3 separate regions of the Homo sapiens genome follow, and regions 2 and 3 are each linked to region 1. The links are contacts of gene promoters, found by promoter capture Hi-C in blood cells and fetal thymus (Javierre and others, 2016). All regions are on one chromosome and are shown on one strand. The core of a region is centred on a gene start or on the middle of the fragment in contact, and the rest is flanking DNA. Distances in the headings are between cores, read along the strand shown.

The links. The method cuts DNA at HindIII sites, captures the fragments that hold promoters and counts their contacts. A CHiCAGO score of 5 or more calls a contact.
Region 2: a contact is called between a fragment that was not itself captured here and the fragment with the promoter of NR2F1-AS1 in region 1, in 10 of 17 cell types (total B cells, total CD4 T cells, fetal thymus and 7 more). The highest score is 10.6, in total B cells.
Region 3: a contact is called between a fragment that was not itself captured here and the fragment with the promoter of NR2F1-AS1 in region 1, in 1 of 17 cell types (total B cells). The highest score is 6.8, in total B cells.

What each region holds. Positions count from the first base shown.
Region 1 is chr5:93,579,373-93,583,196 of GRCh38, forward strand. It overlaps NR2F1-AS1 (NR2F1 regulatory antisense RNA 1), which reads right to left and starts at 1,847. Exons shown (of 8, transcript NR_186187.1): 1 at 1,770-1,847. RefSeq lists an enhancer at 2,023-2,122 and a silencer at 2,243-2,292. The HindIII fragment of the contact is 7,751 bases long and covers 1-3,824 here.
Region 2 is chr5:94,734,097-94,737,920 of GRCh38, forward strand. All of the region lies in intron 19 of MCTP1 (multiple C2 and transmembrane domain containing 1), which reads right to left. Among named protein-coding and RNA genes, the nearest start is that of SLF1, 120 kb to the left of the region's middle. The HindIII fragment of the contact is 2,507 bases long and covers 774-3,280 here.
Region 3 is chr5:94,628,052-94,631,875 of GRCh38, forward strand. It overlaps SLF1 (SMC5/6 complex localization factor 1), which reads left to right. Exons shown (of 21, transcript NM_032290.4): 2 at 760-873; 3 at 1,041-1,116; 4 at 2,452-2,692. The coding sequence starts at 760. Among named protein-coding and RNA genes, the nearest start is that of SLF1, 11 kb to the left of the region's middle. The HindIII fragment of the contact is 713 bases long and covers 1,414-2,126 here.

The DNA of each region.
Region 1 (3,824 bases), core at 597-3,096:
GCGGGCCCAACTTCTCCCCACCGCTAGGGTCACGCCGGGTCCCAGGGGCCTCTTTCAAGTTTGAAAGCTCTGTGGGGGCACGGAGAGCCCACAGTAAGGATGGGTGGGCGCCTCTGCTCCCGGGCAGGCTCAGCTGTCATCCCGTCTCGCCTTGGCCCTCACCTACAGGGCCTGACCCCGGGCCAGCCCAGCTAGGCAAGGCCTCCTCGCTTCCGAGACCCCCCAGCCCCCGGGTGCAGTCCCCAGCATCGGCTGCCCCCGCCCCCCGCGCGCCCTCTGACGCAAACGCACGCCCCTGCCCCGCACGGAGGAAAGCGCTCTTGTTGGTTTTAATTGAGCCTCTTCCTTTCAACACACCCCCTCTGTCCCCACCCCTGGGAGGCGACCCCCTCCCCGCCCCCAGCCGGCTGGCAGCGGCGCAGGGAGTCTGGCTCGGCTGCTAGGCTGCGAATCCCGGTGCTCTCTCGCCGCCGCCGCAGGTTGTCTGCTCGGGAGAGCGGCTCGATGTCCCTTTTAATCCGCTGACACTATCGCCCACATCAGACAGGCAGCCATCGATCGCGTTACATTAGGGGATGGCGTTACAAACGGCGTCCGCAGGTGGGCGGCTGCAGCCAAGCTCGCCAGGTTCAGGCCGTAACCAGGCAAGGCGCGGGCACAAGGGCCAGCCGGGCCGGACTCTGCAGCCGGCTCCACCGCGGGTCGCGCTCGGCACCAGCAGGAACAGCCGGGCCGGTGTTAAACGTGCGGGTCCCCGTCCTCCGCCCGGGCATCCGTTTCCCGCCTAGGAGAGAGAGGGAATAGCGGGTGGGGGTGGGAGCAGCCTGTTTTGAATGTGGATTGCTGCTCGCCTGGCACGATCCTCCCCTCCAAGGAGGCGCGGCGGCCGCGATCCTCGCCTTAGCGCTACGGCGAGACAGAGGCCGAGCGAGGGCAACTCCCGAGCAGGCCCCGAAGAAAGTTCTCCTCGTCCCGCCCTGGCTGCCTAGACTCTGCTCTCGGCCTGCGGAGGCCGTGCGAGCCAAGACTGCCTCCCGGCCCTGCCCGTTACCAACCCCAAGTTCAAGAGAAACGACAACCATTATGTTACTTGCCTGGTGAGGCAGGATTTGGCCGAGTCTCGTTTCTGGTGCCCACGACGCACGGTCCAGGGTCCGAGGGCGGCTGGGCCGGCGGACTGGGCATCCAGTGTGCCTGCGGTGCCCTGGCGCTCGCTGTCGCTGGTCTCCCACTCCCTTCGTCTCTCTCCGCGTTCTCCTTCCCTCGCCCTATCTCCCTCTCTCCGCCTGCTGCCTCTGCCCTCGACTCCCTGCCTCTGACTGTATGGGGAGTACGATTTAGAATCTGTACATAGAAAGGTTTTCTTTTCTTTCTTTTCTTTTGGTCTATTTTAATCGTGTTCGTTTCACCTTTTAACTGACCAGAAGACGGGAGCGCGTTTGCGCGTTTATTTGGGCATAGGGACGAGGGCAAGGAGCCCCTGCTACCCCCAGTCGCCTCCTCGCCATCAGCTGCGTACAATGGGCCACCGCTCGCGGAGTGCATTGACAGTTCTCCATTATTCGAGCTGGAGGGGCTGTGGGGCAGGCACGGGAAAACCTTTTATTCTGCTCTTTAAAATCATCGCTCGTCACTAAGCGGTCGCCGACTCCCGACTTGTAGGCTGGAGAGACCAGGAAGCGCAAAACGTCCCCCAAACACGCAGTGCTTCCCAAACCCCTCCCTGGTGAGACTTAAAGTGAGAACGAGTATTAAAAAACAAACCCTACCTCTGTCAATACAGCGTGGCCATTTACTTCCACCTTTACCTGAGGGCGTGTTGGCGCTAGGAATGCTCGAGCTGAGACAAACTTTTACGCCCTCGCGAGTCGAGGGGCGGGCGGGCGAGCGCGGCTCCCACCCCCGGCGGCGGCAGCGGCGGCTTTGTCACTCCGCGCGGCTCCGCGCCCGCCTGAGCCTGCCTAGGGGAGCGATCTCAAAACGAGGGGGGTGCGAGTATGCGATTGGAGAATATGTAACTAATAGAAGTATCATTTTCCCCCAGTACGATCTTTCAAGGAAAAAAAAATCCATTGAAAGAATTTTCAAAGTGCTGTCTTCGTTTGGAGAAAAGGCACAGGCTGCCTGCGGGGAGGGGAGGAGGGACTCGGCTGTGTGCCGCCCGGGAGCGGCTCCCGTCCGCTAGGTGGCAGCCGGAGCCAGCGATTCCTGCAAGCCCCGCCGCGGGACCCGCTCCTCCCGCCTGCCCCTCCTCCCGCGACCAATCACCTTCAGGATTCAGGAATCGGGGTCTCGGTCTCTCTCTCTCTCTCTCTCTCTCTCTCTCTCTCTCTCTCTCTCTCTCTCTCTCTCTCTCTCTCTCCCCCTCTCCCTCTCCCTCTCCCTCTCCTCTCTCCCTCTCCCTCTCCCTCTCCCTCTCCCTCTCCCTCTCCCTCTCCCTCTCGTCTCTCTCTCTCTCTCTCTCCTCTCTCTCTCTCTCTCCTCTCTCTCTCTCTCCTCTCTCCTCTCTCTCTCGGTCTCTCTCTCTCTCTCTGGGTCTCTCTCTCTCTCTCTCTCTCTGGGTCTCTCTCTCTCTCCTCTCTCTCTGGGTCTCTCTCTCTCTCCTCTCTCTCTCTCTCCCCTCTCCTCTCTTCTCTCTCTCTCTCTCTCAATATCTCGCGCGCTCTCCTCTCTCCTCTCTTTCCTTTCCTCTCCTCTCTCTCTGTCTCTCTCTCTCCTCCTCCCCCTTTTCTCTCTCCCTCTCCGCCTCCCCCCCTCTCCATCTTCTCGTTTGTTTGCTCTTTTCCCGGGACTGACTTGGCCACACTAATCTCCCCCCACCCTGCAACAATATGGGGACTTACTACTGTTTTATTAATAATGATTGAAGCATTGTTGGAGTTTGGAACAGCCAGGTGATAAAAAAAAAAAAAAAGAAGAAGGAAAAATTGGATTGATTGGAAAGTTTATTTTTAAAATCATCTTTGGGATAAATAGGAACCCTTGATTCCGATCGAATTTGTGGCAATAGCTGCAAATTCCAGGAGTGTGCTTTGTCATCATTAAACCTTTTAAACCAAGGTATACTTTGGATTAAAAAATAGGGAGATCCTACCCTGTTTCTACTTGTTTCTAAAAAGGATATAAAATGAGCAGAATCCAGACTTGGATTGTGCTTATATGTGAGAGAAGAAAACAATCCAAATCCAGTATATTTCACAAATCATTAAAATGGTGGGGGTTTCATTCCCATTAAAAATTTTTCCAAACATTTTCAATGACACTCTCTTCACGCTCATAAAATCTAATTTTAAAAACTTTTCAGAAGAAATCAAAATAATTTCCCTCTAATTCTCCTTTTGCCCATCGCTAGGCGTTCTCCCCCTCGTCATCCCTTCCCCCTCTGGGGTGTGAGCGTAAGTGTGTGTGTGTGTATGTGTGTGTGTGTGTGACCATAGACGACCCATACTAATCAGGTCTCAGAGTAAATAGCAGCGCAGGGCGATCTCAATGTAAATTGCGCTTGTCAGAAACACACCCCCCTCCCTCACTTTCTCTCCTCCTCCCCACACCATCCCAGTCTGTAGGTAGCTAAGCGGGGGGGGGAGAAAGAAAGCAAAAGAGGAGGGGGGAGGGGCTCTCCAACCAATGGCGTGCAGGAGGCTTGGCTAACCTTAGCCTCCCATTTTCTCTCCCCCCGATTCAGGGCTCTGACCAGTCAGTCGCCTTTGATTATCAGTTGCCAGCAGCCCTTCTCTTGGCTCCTTGACACGAGCTCCATATAAGGCAGCGATCTCCATAGAAACGTGTCAGTTTCAATAGTAGTGTCAAAGTTCACTATATAC
Region 2 (3,824 bases), core at 777-3,276, 1.2 Mb after region 1:
TTATCCCTTCATGTACCTCCAATGCGCACTAAATGTACCAGCTGCCACTTACATACCACCACCACCATCCTTTCCAGAATTTCTGTAAGCACTGCTGATCAAACGCAAACACTCACTGGTACTAATTAAAATAGCTGTTCATTCCTCTGTAGACAGACATGGCATGAAAATCATTAATATTTTTTAGGATGCAGTCTTATAACATGTATTGTACTTCTTTCCAATCTATTGTGGAAAACTTGGAAAATAAACACAAACATAGAGTAAAAAAAACTCTGGTAAACATTATTAACATTTTAGGGTATATCTTTCTAGTATCTTTTCCACTTATTAATCTTTGTGTTACTGTTAATCATGTGGTTACTATGTGTCAAACACTGTGTCAGATGATGGGATTCAATGAAGAAGTCAGGCCTGATCTGGAATCTGTTATATTGAACATATACATTTGTTGGGCCTAAAGTAATCCTCCCACTTCAGCCTCCCAAGTAGCTGGGACTATAGGCTGTGCCACTACACCTGGCGAATTTTTGTACATTTTGGAGAGATAGGATCTCACTATTTTGTCCAGGTAGGTCTTAGACTCCCGGCCTAAAGCAATCCTCCCACCTCGGCCTCCCAAAGTGCTGGGATTACAGATGTGAGTGAGGCATCATGCCTAGTCTCTTTCTTTCATTTTTAAGGCACAAATAGTAGCATATGATAAATATTTCCATGCTTTTTTTTCTTATTTAACCATGTTTCTTAGAGATTGTTCCATATCAGTGTTGAAAAGCTTCCTCATTCTTCCAGCTTCATCATGACCTATGGTATTGATGTACCATTATTTATTTAATCCGTTTTCCCTTAATAGATGTTTAGGTTCTTTATCAGTTTTTTGCTACCACAAAAAAAGTAGTAGCAAAGAACACCTTGTCTATGTGATAATTGACCTGTGTGAGTGTATCTGTAGTATAAACTTCTACTACAAGAAGTGGAATTGTTTGGCCAAAGGATTTGTGTTTTTGTAATTTTGGTACTTACTGCCAAATCGCCTTCCAAAAGAGATTGTACAGTTTCCACTCCCACCAGGAGGACACGGAGTTACCCATTTCCTTGCCAGGCCGTGTCACAGACATGCCTTCTCTTTTCCATGTATTTTCAAGACTACTTGGAGACCCAGACTAGTTGCTGTGGGGGCTCCATAGTGTCACTTTTTACACTTTTAACCACATTATTTGTCTACATTTTTGGTTTTTGTTTTTGAGACAGGGTCTCAAAATAGTTTCAACCTCCTGGCTCAAGCAATCCTCCCATCTCAGCCTCTCAAGTAGCTGAGACTACAGGCGTACACCGCCATGCCTGGTTAATTTTTTTTTTAAATAGAGACAGGGTCTTTCCATGATGCCCAGGCTGGTCTTGAACTTCCAGGCTCAAGAGATCTCCTTATCTCAGCCTCCTAAAGCGCTGGGATTATAGGCATGAGCCACTGTGTTGGGCCTACATTATGTTTCAGATTAAGTGATATTCATTTTGATTTACAGGATAGAGTACATAATATACATAAGAGAACAGTTTCACTCTATATAAATAGCCAAACCAGTTGAGTATTTTCCAGTAATAGGAAGGTCATGAATAACTTCTAAACTACTGATAGACTAAGTATAATTTTTCTTAAGTGCCAATTTCCACCAAAATTGCTACACTAAAAGAGACTTTAAAATATATCTGTGCATTATATCTAAGGTATCTAACTCGACAGTATGTTCAAATAAATGTGTCTATTTTATTCCTTTGGATGGGTTATCAAGCAGGGAAGTCAACACAGTAGTAGAGAAAGGCAGTACAGCAATTGGGTAAAGTACACAGGCTATAGAGCCAATCACCTTGGGTTTGGACAGACCTTGGTTTCAACCCACTACCCCTGGTTTTGGACCTTGCTAACCATTATGTATGTCCATGTGTACCTTACTTATTCCATTCAAACTTCAGCTTCTTTATCTCTAAAAGATGATTAGTAATACTTGGTTATTTGAAAGATTCAATTATACACAATAAATGGCCACCTCAACCACCACTATCACTTACAATATTGCTATGGTAGCACAGTCCCAAATTCAAATATTTGATCTTCTGGGTGCAGTGGCTCATGCCTGTAATCCCAGCACTTTGGGAGGCTGAGGCAGGAGGATTGCTTAAGCTCAGGAATTTGAGACCAGCCTGGGCAACATAGTGAGAACCTGTCTGTATGAAAAAAAACTAGCTGGGCTTGGGGTGCATGCCTCTGGTCCCAACCACTCGGGAGGCTGAGGTGGGGGAATCACTTGAGCCTGGGAGGTCGAGGCTGCAGTGAGGCGAAATTGTGCCACTGCACTCCAGCCTGGGTGACAGAGCAAGACCCTGTCTCAAAAAAAAATTTTTTTGGGGGGGATCCTTTTGTGATATGCATTCCCATGTTTATATAGATAAATAAAGGCAATGTAAATATAGATTAACCCTGAGAACTTAGTGTAACCAAAATCACAATCTTGAATTAACCTTGAAAGATTAATACCAAAATGCCAGCCTCTTTCACACATACATACACACACACCCTTGCATGCATATTTTAAATGAGAGACTGCAAGAAACACAGAGTCCATGAAGATCTCTGTGTGAACTCCTTCTGAGTCATTTTCAGGAGGTAATAGAGGTAAATTCTGATTACTTAACTGGCAAAAATACACTACGTAGTTGTATTTGATTTACTGAGATAACATGGAGAGGTCACTGCATTATTTTTTAACTTGCAGAAAAAGTTCATTAACTCATTGAGAGTCTACTCTGTACTTGGTACCATGCCAGGCATAGGATAGAGAGCTAATCCCAACAGACATGGAGACCCTGACTTCATGATGCTTATAGTCAAGTGAAATTTTTCTTTTCTTTGGAGACAGGATCTTGCTCTTTTAACTCAGGCTGCAGTGCCGTGGCAATGATCATGACTCACCACAGCCCTGACCTCCTGGGCTGAAGCGAACCTCCTGCCTTAGCCTCTGGAGTACCTGGGACCAAGGCATGTACCACCACATCCAGCTAATTTTTAAATTTTTTTGTAGAGAAAGAATCTCACTATGTTTTCCAGGCTGAGGTAGAATATTTTTATCTCAGAGGAGGAGGGAGGGAGGGAGGGAAACAGTGCAAGTAATATGCTTTTGCTGGGCCTCCTGGTGATAGCAGAAACACTGCCAGATAATGGTAGTATCTAACATATTGGGGCACACATCTAAGTAGAAGAGATAGGCTCTAACCCAGAGCAGTAAGCTTAGATATTAGAATAAAGCATAATTTCAAATTCTAAGCACCCAAATAGTTTGATGTCATTTATTACCAAAAATTCTTGTCACTGTTTGAATACTAAATAGGGATGTTTCTTGAGTGAGTACTGAATAGAAAAAATTAAAATAGGGAGTCCTGTAGTTTTGTTTCAATAACTCCAATTTATACAGGTTCTTAAATATTTGCAATAACCATTACTGAGGAATAGTTCCATTTCCTCTATCAATAACCAGTTACATAAGTTATCAACTCTTTACTAAAAGAAAATCTAATTTGATTCAATTAGAATTACTTTTGTTTGAGACAGAATCTCACTCTGTAGCTCAAGCTGGAGTCCCGTGGTGCGATCTTGGCTCACTGCAACCTTTGCCTCTGGGGCTCAAGTGATTCTCCTGCTTCAAGCCTCCCAAATAGCTGGGAGTAGAGGTGTGCGCCACCACACTTGGTTAATTTTTTTGTATTTTTAGTAGAGACGGGGTTTCACCATGTTGCCCTTGGTGGTCTCAAACTCCTGAGCTCAGGCGATC
Region 3 (3,824 bases), core at 520-3,019, 1.0 Mb after region 1:
CCTGACCTCAGGTAATCTGCCCGCCTCGGCCTCCCAAAGAAAGTGCTGGGATTACAGGCGTGAGCCACCGCTCCTGGCCAACAATACTTTCTTTATTTGTTTATTTATTTTTGAGATGGAGTCTTGCTCTGTCACCCAGGCTGGAGTGCAGTGGCATGATCTTGGCTCACTGCAACCACTGCGTCCAGGGTTCAAGCAATTCTCCTGTCTCAGCCTCCTGAGTATTACAGGCACCTGCCACCACACCTGGCTAATTTTTATATTTTTAGTAGAGGCAGGGTTTCACCATGTTGGCCAGGCTGGTCTAGATTTCCTGACCTCGTGATCCGCCGGCCTCGGCCTCCCAAAGTGCTGGGATTACAGGCGTGAGCCACTGCACCCAGCCCAACAATACTTTTTAAATGAAGCTTGTATAACATTATTATGCCAGTATTTGTATAACATTCTATCATTTTCTGAAGAAGTATATTTATTCATCAATGTGTTTTAGTGTCAAGTAATGTATTAATCCAGACTTTCAATGTTCAAATCAGAAAGAAAACCCTCACTTAAGGCCACATTTTGAGAAGATAACTTTTAAAACTAGTTTCTATCGTATATAAGTAATTTTAATATTGTTTTAACAGCTGTGCCTAACATCTTTAATTCATTGTATGTTTAATAGTTTATTTTTAGTACTCATAGTTAAGAAAAAATAATGTCAACCCTGTGAATAATATCTTTAACACACATTATCTTCTGTATGTTTGTATTTGTTAGATGGAAGATGGTACCCCAAAGCATATCATCCAGATGACAGGATTTAAGATGGAAGAAAAAGAAGCGCTAGTCAAATTACTTTTAAAACTAGATTGCACTTTTATTAAGAGTGAGGTAAGAAACTTATCAAAATGTTCAAGATATATTTGAAAAATAACTACAATTCAAATACTGGCCTAAGAATGATAAAATGCCTTCTTGATATTGTAGCAATAAAAAGGATGTGTCATAAAGGGAGTCTTACTTTAGTAACATTTCTTGATGTGGATTTTTCCCTCCAGAAATACAAAAATTGTACACATCTTATAGCTGAACGCCTATGTAAGAGTGAAAAATTTTTAGCAGCTTGTGCGGCAGGTAAGTTAACTGTCTTCCCCCAACTTTTAAAAACAATCTTCGTGTTAAAGCAAAAGTATTTTAGTCTCTGGAGAGATAGCATATTTACATATCAAACCTAAATGTGTTTTTCTGATATTTTTTGAAAATATTTAATATATTTTTTGGCTTATTACTCTTCTAAGTAAAATTTTGTAACACATGAAAAATGTATTAAATAGGCAGAAATATTTACCTCAACAAGGATTTAGTGTGTTTTGTTTAAGACAAAAAAAAAATACATTAATGAAAAGACTGGCACAAAATGTCAAAATCTTAAGCTTTTGTTAAAGTCTCAGCTGTTTTCAGTCAAGTTTTCTTTGATCTGTCATTTGATACAGGCAGTGCTTTTGTTCTCTCTGCTGCTTCTATCCATATTATGAAGCAATGGTCATACTATTTTATTTTTCTAAGATATTAAATACTATAGACCCAAATTAAGACTTAGTCTTCTCCTCTATCGTTTTGTATTTTATAGCTTTCTCTGCTGTGATTGATCTGACATATCATTAGTCTACTGATTGCAAAAAAAGAAGCATATGTAACTTGGGTGAATTTATCCTTTTTGGATTAACTTACAAGGAAAACACTTGCATTCGTTTTTAACTTTACAAATGAAAACATACATTGTCCATAATGTTCAAAAAGATCATTGATGCCCAGATAAAGAAACTGTTGGTCGGGTGTGGAGGCTCATGCCTGTAATCCTAGCACTTTGGGAGGCCAAGGCAAAAGGATCACTTGTGCCAAGGAGTTTAAGACCAGCCTGGGCAACGTAGCGAGATCTCATCTCTTAAGAAAAAAAAAAGAGTTGTTATAAAATGACCTGAAAAATTCTTTAACTCAGTAAATTTGTTTTACAGAGTAATAATGCCGTGAACAATATTGGAAAAGCTGTTAGCATAGGAGGAAGAATATAAATCTAACCCAAAATAGTGAATAATGATAGTAATAATAATTCCAGTAATACCACATTTTATTTTGGATTTTAAAGCTTTAGATTTATGTTTAGAATTATAAAATTGTAATTTAGAATTATATTTAAATGAAACTGTAATTATAACTAAGTTATAGCTATGGAATTATATTTAGAATTATAATTATTTGTCATGGAAAAGATTACATACAATGTTCAGTGATATTGTAAGCCTCTTACTATCAGAAAATTTCCCCAAAATGCATAGTTCAAAGATAATGTTAGCAGCATAGCTTAAGAGTCTTATCTTGAAAAAGGTTGACTTTTATATTTGATCTTTATTGTTTATCATTTATCAGAACCAAAATTCCTTTGTGACTGACAGCTCATTTGCTTTCTAGGAAAGTGGATACTAACCAAGGACTATATAATTCATAGTGCCAAAAGTGGCAGATGGCTTGATGAAACAACTTATGAATGGGGATATAAAATTGAAAAAGATTCCCGTTATTCACCTCAAATGCAATCTGCACCTAAAAGATGGCGTGAAGAACTGAAACGCACTGGTGCTCCAGGAGCCTTCCACAGATGGAAAGTTGTCCTCCTTGTTAGAACTGATAAGCGAAGTGATTCTCTTATAAGGTAGGATGTGATTACATAAAAGCTAAAGCAATTAATGAGAAAATAATTTTGATTTGCATGAGTACTTTCTGTATTTTTTTGCAATTATTAGCCCAAATGAGCCATGGTGATTTACTCCAATCTCCTAGGTAAGCCATTATGCTCGTTTAGACTTATGTGTCTTTAATAGAACAAAATCTACTTTACAATATTGTTTTAGATTATTCTGGATATCTCTATTTTACTTTCCATGTTATTCCTTTTGGCCAACTCAAGCAAAACAAAAAAGGAAAACTAATTGGGAGTTTTTTGTTTCTAGTTATGAAGCACTTTTAGACTTTTGGTATTATCACAAAAGCATCATTCTGGGTTTATGTAGTGCTGTCTTCATTATTCATACTGTTTTCATCATAATTTTATTTCATTTTGTCCTTGGTATATTTTTAAAAGCTTTTTTATTGGGTAAACTGTATTCTAAGACTGCTGTTACTTTTTTTTTTATGGCAAGAGGGTGGGGAGTGTTTTTGTCTCTTAGTTAAATGTAATTTATAATCAATAACATGCACACAAATTAAGGGTATATTTTGATGAGTTTGGACAAATTGATGCACCCATGTTACCCTCACTATAATCAAGATCTGTTACATGTACATTATCCTATAATGTTCTCTTGTGTCCTTGAACATTTAGTTCTGTACCACCAACACCAGGCAACCACTAATTTCCTTTTTATCACTATAGACTAGATGTATACTTTTTAAGAGGTCCTTATGAATGGGATCATACTTAAATACTGCTTTGATATAGCTTCATTTCTCTAGTACAGTATTATTAAGATTCATCCATTTTGTGTATACCAGCAGTTCATTCCTTTTTGTTGCTGAGTAGTAGTCTACTCCATGGATATGTTACAGTCTGTTTATTCACATATTGGTAGATATTTGGGATTTTTTTGTCTTTGCTAATATAAATTGAGCTGCTATGAACATTTGGTTACAAGTATTCATGCAGACATGTTTTCAGTTCTCTTGGGAAATATCTCGGAATGAATGAATTTATACTGTTTGAGATGGCAATTATGTGTGTAACATTATAAGAAAATGCCAAACTGGCCAGGCATAGTGGCTCAGGTCTGTAATCCTAGCACTTTGAG